Linked DNA regions of Homo sapiens: regions 1 and 2 are each linked to region 3. Evidence: promoter capture Hi-C in 16 types of primary human blood cells and fetal thymus (Javierre and others, 2016). All regions are on one chromosome and are shown on one strand. The core of a region is centred on a gene start or on the middle of the fragment in contact, and the rest is flanking DNA. Distances in the headings are between cores, read along the strand shown.

Region 1 (3,019 bases), core at 175-2,674, 150 kb before region 3:
GGAAGGTCTACCATCCATCTGAAAGCCATAGCACAGAGGGTTTTCACACATGGATTCCACCCACCAAGCTCCTGGTGTCTGCCTGTTGCAGGTTTCCCCAAGTGTATCATTTGTGCCCTCCTCCCTTTCATCTGGTCAGAGTTCAGGTTGGAAGCAAGATGCCAGAGGCAAACGTTGAGGTGAAGCATCAGGCATGTAGTGTGCAATCGTTTTATAATAAAGAAACTTTTTTTTTTTTTGAAATGGAGTCTCACTCCGTCACCCGGACTGCAGTGCAGTGGCACGATCTCCACTCACTACAACCTCCGGCTCCCGGGTTCAAGCAGCTCTCTGCCTCAGCCTCCTCAGTAGCTGAGATTACAGGCACCTTCCATCATGCCCAGCTAATTTTTTTTGCATTTTTAGTAGACAGGGTTTCACCATCTTGGCCAGGTTGGTCTTGAACTCCTGACCACGATCCACCTGCCTCAGCCTCCAAAAGTGCTGAGATTATAGGTGTGAGCCACCGTTCCCGGCTAAGAAATCTTTATAATAAAGAAAAAACTGGCATGGAAATTACATAAAATAAAGACAGTTAGTGGAATTCCTAAAGATGAAAATCTATTCTTTATATAAAAAGGCAACACTGAAGATAAACAATTAGTCTTCATTTTAGAATGTCATGTTCCTAGAAAGGAGCCTTAATGATGGAAGGTAGAGATATGCAGGAAGGGGCCTGAACATCACTCAATTTAAAAACAACCATTAAAACGTAGACAAAGGGGATGAGATCAAATGTCAGAAATCAAATAATCTGTGGAGAGACATAAAAAGTTGCATGGATTTGCTGCATAAACTTAGAAAAATGCAAAAATTCACTTGCAGATAATTAATTCATTCTAAGTTTCCTCCAAGCCTGATTCACTGGAGATCTCAAGAAGCTACTGGAAAGTCACTCTTTTATTCTATCACTCATCCTTCAACAGTCTTCTGAGTATCTACTAAGTAACTTACAAACTATCGGTTTCTCACTACCTCTCTCCTTATGACTCCATACTCATCCCATGCCTTAACATCCACATCTTGTGTATTTTGCATCATTTCCTAACATCTGCATCATTCCCTGACAACATAAAAGCTCTCCATTGTCCTCAAGACTGTCATTGAGCACGCCATAGTGGACATTCAATTATTCCTTGGCTGTTGTTGCCATCACTGTCTGGTTGGATAATCACATAACTGCAATACAAGAATAATGAAGTATATGGAAGTGTGAAAGAAAAGACAGTCTCTTTTGAGACCAGCAGTTTCTTCTGGAGGACTGAGCCACAGCTCTTCCTTTGTCACTAAATTATTTGCCAATATAGACATCTCATTTTCCCAATGATGTGCTTTGCCTGTAGAAGGCATGTATGAGTTCGTTCTCACATTACCATGAAGAAATACCCGAGACTGGGTAATTTATAAAGAAAAGAAGTTTAATTGACTCACAGTTCTGCATGGCTGGGGAGGCCTCAGGAAACTTACAATGGACACAGAGCCAAACCATATCAAAGCACAAGACAGTCTTCCTTCCCTCACTTGGGCTGAGAATCTCAGAATGTTCTTTATAAGGCTGCAATGCTGGCTTTACTCTACCAATGGGAAGTATTTAGGTGAAATTCCTGGTCAGTCTCCCAGAAACATATTGTAAAAGGGAAAAAGAAAAGACCCTCTTATCACATACCTTAGTTAAACAGAGGGGAGAAATATTTAAAGAGTTCCAGGAGATAAAAGACTTTTTGTTTTTCTTTTAGAAATAGGGTCTTGCTATGTTGTGCAGTGGTTATTCACAGGCATGATCATAGTACACTACAGCCTCAAACACCCAGGCTCAAGCAATCCTCCCGTCTCAGCTTCTTGAATAGCTGGTACTATAGGACACACCACCTCACTCAGCTGAGAAAAACAAAATTAATGGCATGATGTCCAAGGAAATTATCTTGTTTTAATTTATGAGAAGATTCTGTCTTACCTTTTAACTTCCAGCCTGAGACAAAGGAAGAAGTATCAAAAATTGTACTTTCCCACTTTGTCCTATCCGGACTCCTATAAAAGCAGAGCCTGAAGCAAGGATAAAAATGATAACAATTTGTTTGGGAGGTACAAATCCAGGGCAATGATAGTGAGGAAAAAGAATGAGTCAAGTAAAGATGCCATGCAGTTTGGTGTGTTATAGTACCATAGCTGCCCACTACTTCACAACAAGCTGCTAAGAGACAAGGCAAGTTGCTTAGCAAGCTCGGACATTCAGCATGTGGGACTTACTTCTCTAGAACAATCTCAAGGAGTGTCACAGGAAAGAATAGCATTCAGTGTCTGAAACAAAAAGCTAAGTTTATTGCTCGCTAGGCAAGGGAGAACAATATTTGTAAAGTAGTGCCTCTGAACCAAGAAAGAACTGATCTTATACGGGATTCGGGAAATGTGAAATCTAGAAATTAGTGTTCTCTCAGAAGTGGGCTTTAGAGGATTTTCCACTATGTAAGTATGGACACTGGAATGACGTTGTAGCTGATTGGTTCAGCTACATCTCTCCTCTCAGCTGTCACTCAGGAAGCCAGGTTTCATGCCTTATAGTATGCTGTTTCATCCAAGTCCAAACATGAAGTAGCAACCTGGTATAGATGGAGCACCAACTGAGAGGAAGAAAAAAGGAAAGAAATAGTACTGCTTGTTTAGTCATGGAACATTAAGTTAGCAGATGACTTAGAGAGCCTGGTCCTGGACCGTGAAGACTAAGGCACAAACCTTTCTTGATGAGGGGACCAAAGTGGGGTTTATCCACAGGGAATAATATCCCAGAATTACTAGGAATCTCAGTTCCTCTTCTTTCTCAGTTTTCCTTCAAAAACGAATGGAACTCTTGGCCCCAAACTACTATCCCCACACTGCCCTCCATAAACGTCTGATTCTGATTTTACCTAAAACGTGAAGAAGCCAAAGCCTTTTCACTGTGCAACTCATGAGAGACCATTACAATGATCCCTCTTGTCAGGGA
Region 2 (3,240 bases), core at 398-2,897, 180 kb before region 3:
CATGTAACAAAACTGCACTTTGTACTCCTTAAATGTATACAAATTTTTTTAATGAACCTAAAATGAGATGGTTGAGCTTCCAAATGTTCTGATGTGACACTCACTCACTCAGACATTGCTATCTGTGACCTGTGGCTAGCTAATGAAACTTTTTTTTTTTTACACTTTAAGTTCTAGGGTACATGTGCACAATGTGCAGGTTAGTTACATATGTATACATGTGACATGCTGGTGTGCTGCACCCATTAACTCGTCATTTAGCATTAGGTATATCTCCTAATGCTATCCCTCCCCCCTCCCCCCACCCCACAAGAGTCCCCAGAGTGTGATGTTCCCCTTCCTGTGTCCATGTGTTCTCATTGTTCAATTCCCACCTATGAGTGAGAACATGCGGTGTTTGGTTTTTTGTCCTTGCAATAGTTTGCTGAGAATGATGGTTTCCAATTTCATCCATGTCCCTACAAAGGACATGAACTCATAGCTAATGAAACATTTCGAGATCCAAAAGCTTACAATCACCACTTGTCCAGAAAAATGTTGCTGATACATTTGATGTGTAGTCTACAGGGGCTTTTACTGTCCTTTAGAGAAGTAGATTTCTTTTGATTTACCCAAGTGTATAAATTTCTAATACTGATCTTTCTGTCACTCTGAACCTACTATTGACTTGACCATGTAGAATAGAAACCCAGTGTCTGTGTAGGAACCAGGACGTTGCAGGGTTTGGGGCAGGGACTAACAAGATATAGTTTGCATGCTTCAAAGATCTCTCTGTCTTCTGTATGAGGAATTTATTCTAGGGAGGCAAGAATAGAAGCAGGGAGACAAGTTAGAAGATTATTAGGATGATGGTGCTGGCGATGGTAAGAAATCGGGATGTATATTGAAGGTAGAACCAGCAGAATTTACTCATGCATTGACTATGAAAGGGAAAAGCGAATCAAATAAAACTTGGAGGTTTCCTCCTGATTACCTGGGAGAATACTGATGGTATTTATTGAGGTATGGAAGGCAGGGCATAACAGGTTGGGGTGAACAGAGCACTCAGGAGTTTTGTTTAAGGCATATTAAATCTGAGATGCTTATTGGACATCTCAATAGCAATGTTGGGTAGGCAGTTAAATATATGTTTGGTGCTCAAAAGGAAGAGATGCCAGTGCTAAAGACATACATCTGGGAGTCTTAGAAGATTGTATTATTGACCCCAGCTATTTGCTCTCTTTCTGGTCATGTGACTTTTTCTTCCAGGGATGACTATACCTTCCTTCCTCATGGAATTTATGAGCATGTTCTGGCCACCCAGATGTAAGTTTCCTATGTCAAACTAGAAGTTTCTGATGTGATTATCTGGTTTACCTCTGTTTCTATTGTTCCTGCTCTCCACACTATAAGAACAATATGTCCAAGATAAGGGTGGCTACATCAGTTCTGGGTCCTGAAATAAAAAGACGCATGGACTTGAACACAGTCAAGCTGAGCTGAGTCACAGATAATCCCTCAGCCCTCATGTAACATGAACAAGAAATCAATAAATGTTTATTGTTGTTAAATACTGATATGTTGGAGTTATTTGCAACCTCAGTAAAGGCCAACTAATAAAAAAATTGGTAACAGAAGTGCTACCATATCTAAAAATATAAAATATGAGGCATTAACTTTAGGGCTAGGTAGCAAGGGAATTCTTCCAGGAGGTTGGACAAGTAAGATTCATGATATGCAGTCGTGAAAAGTTTGGTCAAATTGTGTCTTCTAAACTTGGAAGGCAGATAATGTTCCTAATGGACTTGCTGCATATGGACAAATATAGAAGGATTGAAAAATTGAAAGAGAGCATGATGGTAATATGAATAAGAGGTGAGCTCAGAAAGAATTCACCTATTTCAATGAATGAGATGGAAAATAGGCAGCAAAGAAATTCTGGGCCTTCAAGTTTGGACAATAAAATCCTTCTCACCTCCCACCTATAAAATATAAAATTTAAGTATTCCTTGAAATAGAAAGGCCTTTTAATACTCCATCTCAGGGCAAAGACAGAACCAAAGGTGTCATCATCAGGCCTATGTTAAGATTTCTGGTTGGATTAAGGTGACTTGCAGACATTTTTTTTTCCACCACTGGACAAAACGGCTCAGGGAAAAGAGATCAAGAGTACGTTCCTATGAAAGCATGATATACCCACATACCCATAATCAAGTCTAGAGAAAGTCTTTCTTGAAATGAGTAATGGTTGTGTCTATTGGAACATGGATCCAACCAGTACCAAATAGATTAAAACAATACAACAAAGTGTTTGAGAGAGTTAGGTTGTCAAAAGTGCTGCCAGTCTGTGACTATTTGAAAAGCAAAGTTGGCCCTTAGGCTAATTTGCTTTTAAATGACTTTAGAGATGGGGTCTTTTTCTGTCACACAGGCTGGAGTGCAGTGGTGTGATCACAGCTCACAGCAACCTCAACCTCCTGGGCTCAAGTGATCCTCCTGCCTCAACCTCCCAAAGTGCTGGAATCACAGGTGTCAGCCAGCCCTTAGGCTAAGTTTTTATGGGCAAGAATATGATGTATTCTGAGGGAAGAAAATATATGTGATCAATGTTGGATCATGATAGATTATTATTCCCAATTATTTGTTCCCATAGTCTAATAGGATGATTTATCCTCACTCACTTTCTGTCATGTGAGTTGTCTTCCCTCTTCGGAGAGACAATGTGTCTCCACTTCACATATTTGGATACATGAAATAATTCAGTTAATAAGATGTGAGGACATGTACATATCTGAGAAAAAGCTTTAAATATGATTTCATGGTTTGTGTTGCACTCTCTTGCTCTATTTTCCACAATAAGACAACGTATTCCAGAAAAGGGCTCTTCAATCTAGGATAAGTCACACTGAGTTTAGCAAAGCTAAGCAGAGCCACAGCTGACCCACAGCCTTAGCGTAAATGGTCAAGAAATAAATCGTTTTTGTAAGGCAGTGAGATATTGGGGCTACCTGCTACTGTGACAGTAGTTAGTTAACACAGGAGTCATCTGTGTATGGGTAATGTATTTAAGGCCATAGAACTCAATGAGATTACATAGGGAATAAGCACAGATAAAGAGACAGACTGAGCCTGGGAAGAGGAGACTCCAGGAAAACAGACTGAGAAACCATGGACAAAGATGTTAGAAGGAAGCAGGAAAGAACCAGATGAGAGGCCAGTAAAAAAACAAACAAACAAACAAACGTGCTTTATGAAAGACAG
Region 3 (3,299 bases), core at 788-3,287:
CCAAAGGGGGAAGAAGAAAGAGAAAAAGGAAATCTCTTAAAATACACAGGTATACATATGACAAAGCAAAGAAGGAAATGTGAGCAGATAGCGCAGTCCTCGTTTCTGAAATTGGTCCCCTGACTGGGGCTATACCTATTCCATTTCCTCACCCTCAGCCAGGCAGGTGGAGCAAAACTTAAGTCTTGGTGGATCTGAATCTTGATGCTGTGGAGCTGTCTTACTAGCCCCAGACTACCTGCCTCTCAATTTCTAATTATATCAGTGAAAGCAAACAGCTTTGATTTGTTTAAGCCTCTGATTTTTTGGTCTAACTGATGTAAGACCACAAGACAAGAGTTCTCCAGCTCCGGATTCTCTTCTGTTCTGTTAATGGTGAAATGCCCAGAGAAGAGTTGCCAACTTTGGCAAATAAAAAATACAGGATTCCAGTTAAATTCAAATTTTAGATAAACAACAATTTTTTAGTATTAGTGTGTCCCATTCAATATTTGGACATACTTAACTAAAAAATGATTTGTTGTTCATCTGAAATACAAATTTAACTGGGCATTCTGAATATTCTCTGGCAACCCCCGAGAGAGTGAAGAAAGTGGTACAAGGACACTTAAGAAGACCAGATTTGAAAAGACATTACGGATGTGTTTAAATGTCTTATTCTAGAGAGAGTTAGAGCTGTAGGTAGAACTTGGGAAATTAAGTTAAAAGCAACAGAGGACCTGGCCAATATATACTAAGGAGTGGATCACTCTGGTCACAAGCCCAACCTGAGACCAAGGGCATAGTGAGATGATTTGGGAAAGGCACTTATACACTACTCATCCCCGTCTTTGAACTAAATGCCTTATAAATCTCCAAGAGAAATGACAGTCCACCATGTGGACTGCTTTCTGTAAGTCCAGGGAAAATAAAAGCTATGTGCTTGAAACCCACTTCTGATATTATAAGGTGTGTGATCTTTGTCATGTTAATGGGTCTGAGTATCAATTCTACAATTGTAAAGTGACAGTAATGGTGTGTCCCCAGGTTGTTGTGGAAAGCTTGATTCTTAATGCAACAGTAGGAAACCCCAACCTCTCTGGAGCAAACACCCTTCTACATCTTTACTTCCCCTGCACATTGGCAGGACTCTATTCCTCTATTTCTCTCTAGTGCTAGAGCAGAAAGGGACCTTGATTTGATATCAGGAAAATCTATTTCTGAACCATAAGCTATGATAGCTGATTTAAAAAATTGACTATCATGACATGATAATGATCATAATGGTAATACATATTGATAGGGTTGCCGTGAAAGTAATAATATATCTAAGAGTTGTGACAATATATGATACACCTAGACTCTCAGAAAATGCTAATTCCAATCCCAATTGCTCTTTGCATAAAGTTCTGTCCTAGGGTCTGTTCTTTTCCCACATCTACCCTCCTTGGATCTCTCTTCTGTCAAAAACATGTGGTTCAGAGGAGGAGAGAGATCCAGGTCAATGTTTTTCAAATTACAAGGAATTATCATTTAAATGGGGTTGTTGCTCAAGTTTTGACGTGTAGTGGAATGGAGTGGAGTGGAGTGGAATGGAAACTAACAGAAAACACTGCACATGGTTAAGATAAAGATTGTTTCCTGAAACCTTTAATTTGTGCTTACATACTCACACATACATATGTGCATGCACTGGGACTCTGCAATATGCATTTCTGACTATGGAACATAGCCATAAAAGTCTTTGCACTGAACGTTCAGTGGGCCTTTCACAAGCTGCCCTAATTGGGAAAGAAAAACATGGTCCCTCCATTTCCTGCCCCCAACTCCAGAAAAGTCACCATAGTTGAGGGTACATCTGAGAAGCCAGCACTTGGGAGTTCAGGGCTCAAGTTCCTTTCTAGAAAAACACTGGGTGATTCTAGGGGAACTTCTGATCAGAAACAGCCAATTCAGAGTGAGAGAAGAAAACGTGACCATGCAGTTCCTGTGGTTACCAGCCTTGCCCCTCTCTTGCCTTCTGGGAGTTATAAAACCCAAGACTGGAAAGGAAAACCAGCATTTGCTCAGGCAGCCTCTCTGGGAAGATGCTGCTTCTTCCTCTCCCCCTGCTGCTCTTTCTCTTGTGCTCCAGAGCTGAAGCTGGTGAGTATCAGGGTTCTTCCCTCTGAAATCTGCAGTATCAGCTCCTGAAACAAAGATGTTTAGTCTGAAAATAGCTGACTCCTAAACAGGGTTCCAAGATCTCTCTTCAAGAGTCCCAGAGGGAAATTTCCACTTGGGATGTGTGCCACCCCACCCCCACCCCCACCCACTGCCATTCTCTACAGCCTAGGACAGCCCCCAGGAACAAGGAATTTCACCTCAATTGTAGAAAAGCCCAGAGCAAGTGGAAGGAAAAGGGGTATCCCCAGGAAAACAGACATGTCCTCTTAATCTTCTGAGCATCAGGGCTACCCATTACTTTGTGACTTTCTCACTCTGTGACCATGCTCAAGAGCTATGGAGAAATCTAAAACAGGAACCTGGACAGTGGGTCCTACACAGAGACAGAGGAGGGTGGGCCAGGGCAAGGTGGGAGTGGGAGAAGTCTGAGATGAAAACATCAGAATGGAGCAGAGGCAAGAATGAGATTTCACCTGGGAGGTTATGGGTGGGGAAAGATACGAAATACAGGAGACAGGAGAGGGAAGATGGGCGGAACACAGGGTGAGAATGAGATTCCAGGGAAGCCTAGCTCAGCTTTAACCCAATTTGTCCATTCATTGGAGAGAGTATCTATGGCCGTGTTCAAACCCTGGGGTGCTCTGTTCCAGGGGAGATCATCGGGGGCACAGAATGCAAGCCACATTCCCGCCCCTACATGGCCTACCTGGAAATTGTAACTTCCAACGGTCCCTCAAAATTTTGTGGTGGTTTCCTTATAAGACGGAACTTTGTGCTGACGGCTGCTCATTGTGCAGGAAGGTGAGACAACAGGGTCTATTTATCTCCAAATGGGAGATGAACAACCAGAGTAGCATCCAGGAATACACCTGCACTGGGGACTGAAGAGGGGGTCCTGGGTCTTGTCAACTTTCAGGAGAGGGAAGACTTGGGCTGAAAGACTTTAGTCTGTGTTTGAATAGTTCCTTGAGCCTCAGTCACTGTGAGCTAAGCTCCCCTTCGGAGGAAAAGGAGGTCCTGTCCAAGGTCCCTCTTGTTGCAGTAGCACCCCTCACCCCTACCCAACTCAAGACACACGGCTCACTTTTCAGGGCCCCACCCAGTCTCAGGGCCACTTCCTCTATGGCCTTTTCAAGAACACTGGCCTCTAGTTC

The links. Contacts are between HindIII fragments. The CHiCAGO score rates a contact against its expected background, and 5 or more counts as called.
Region 1: a contact is called between a fragment that was not itself captured here and the fragment with the promoter of CMA1 in region 3, in 1 of 17 cell types (M2 macrophages). The highest score is 5.2, in M2 macrophages.
Region 2: a fragment that was not itself captured here is called in contact with the fragment with the promoter of CMA1 in region 3 in 1 of 17 cell types (M0 macrophages); the score reaches 6.0 in M0 macrophages.

The regions. Positions count from the first base shown.
Region 1 is chr14:24,657,163-24,660,181 of GRCh38, reverse strand. No RefSeq gene overlaps it. Among named protein-coding and RNA genes, the nearest start is that of GZMB, 24 kb to the right of the region's middle. The HindIII fragment of the contact is 9,501 bases long and covers 1-3,019 here.
Region 2 is chr14:24,683,131-24,686,370 of GRCh38, reverse strand. No RefSeq gene overlaps it. Among named protein-coding and RNA genes, the nearest start is that of GZMB, 51 kb to the right of the region's middle. The HindIII fragment of the contact is 2,273 bases long and covers 511-2,783 here.
Region 3 is chr14:24,507,003-24,510,301 of GRCh38, reverse strand. CMA1 (chymase 1) reads left to right here and starts at 2,037. Exons shown (of 5, transcript NM_001836.5): 1 at 2,037-2,124; 2 at 2,796-2,946. The coding sequence starts at 2,067. RefSeq lists an enhancer at 2,229-3,299. The HindIII fragment of the contact is 2,718 bases long and covers 1,043-3,299 here.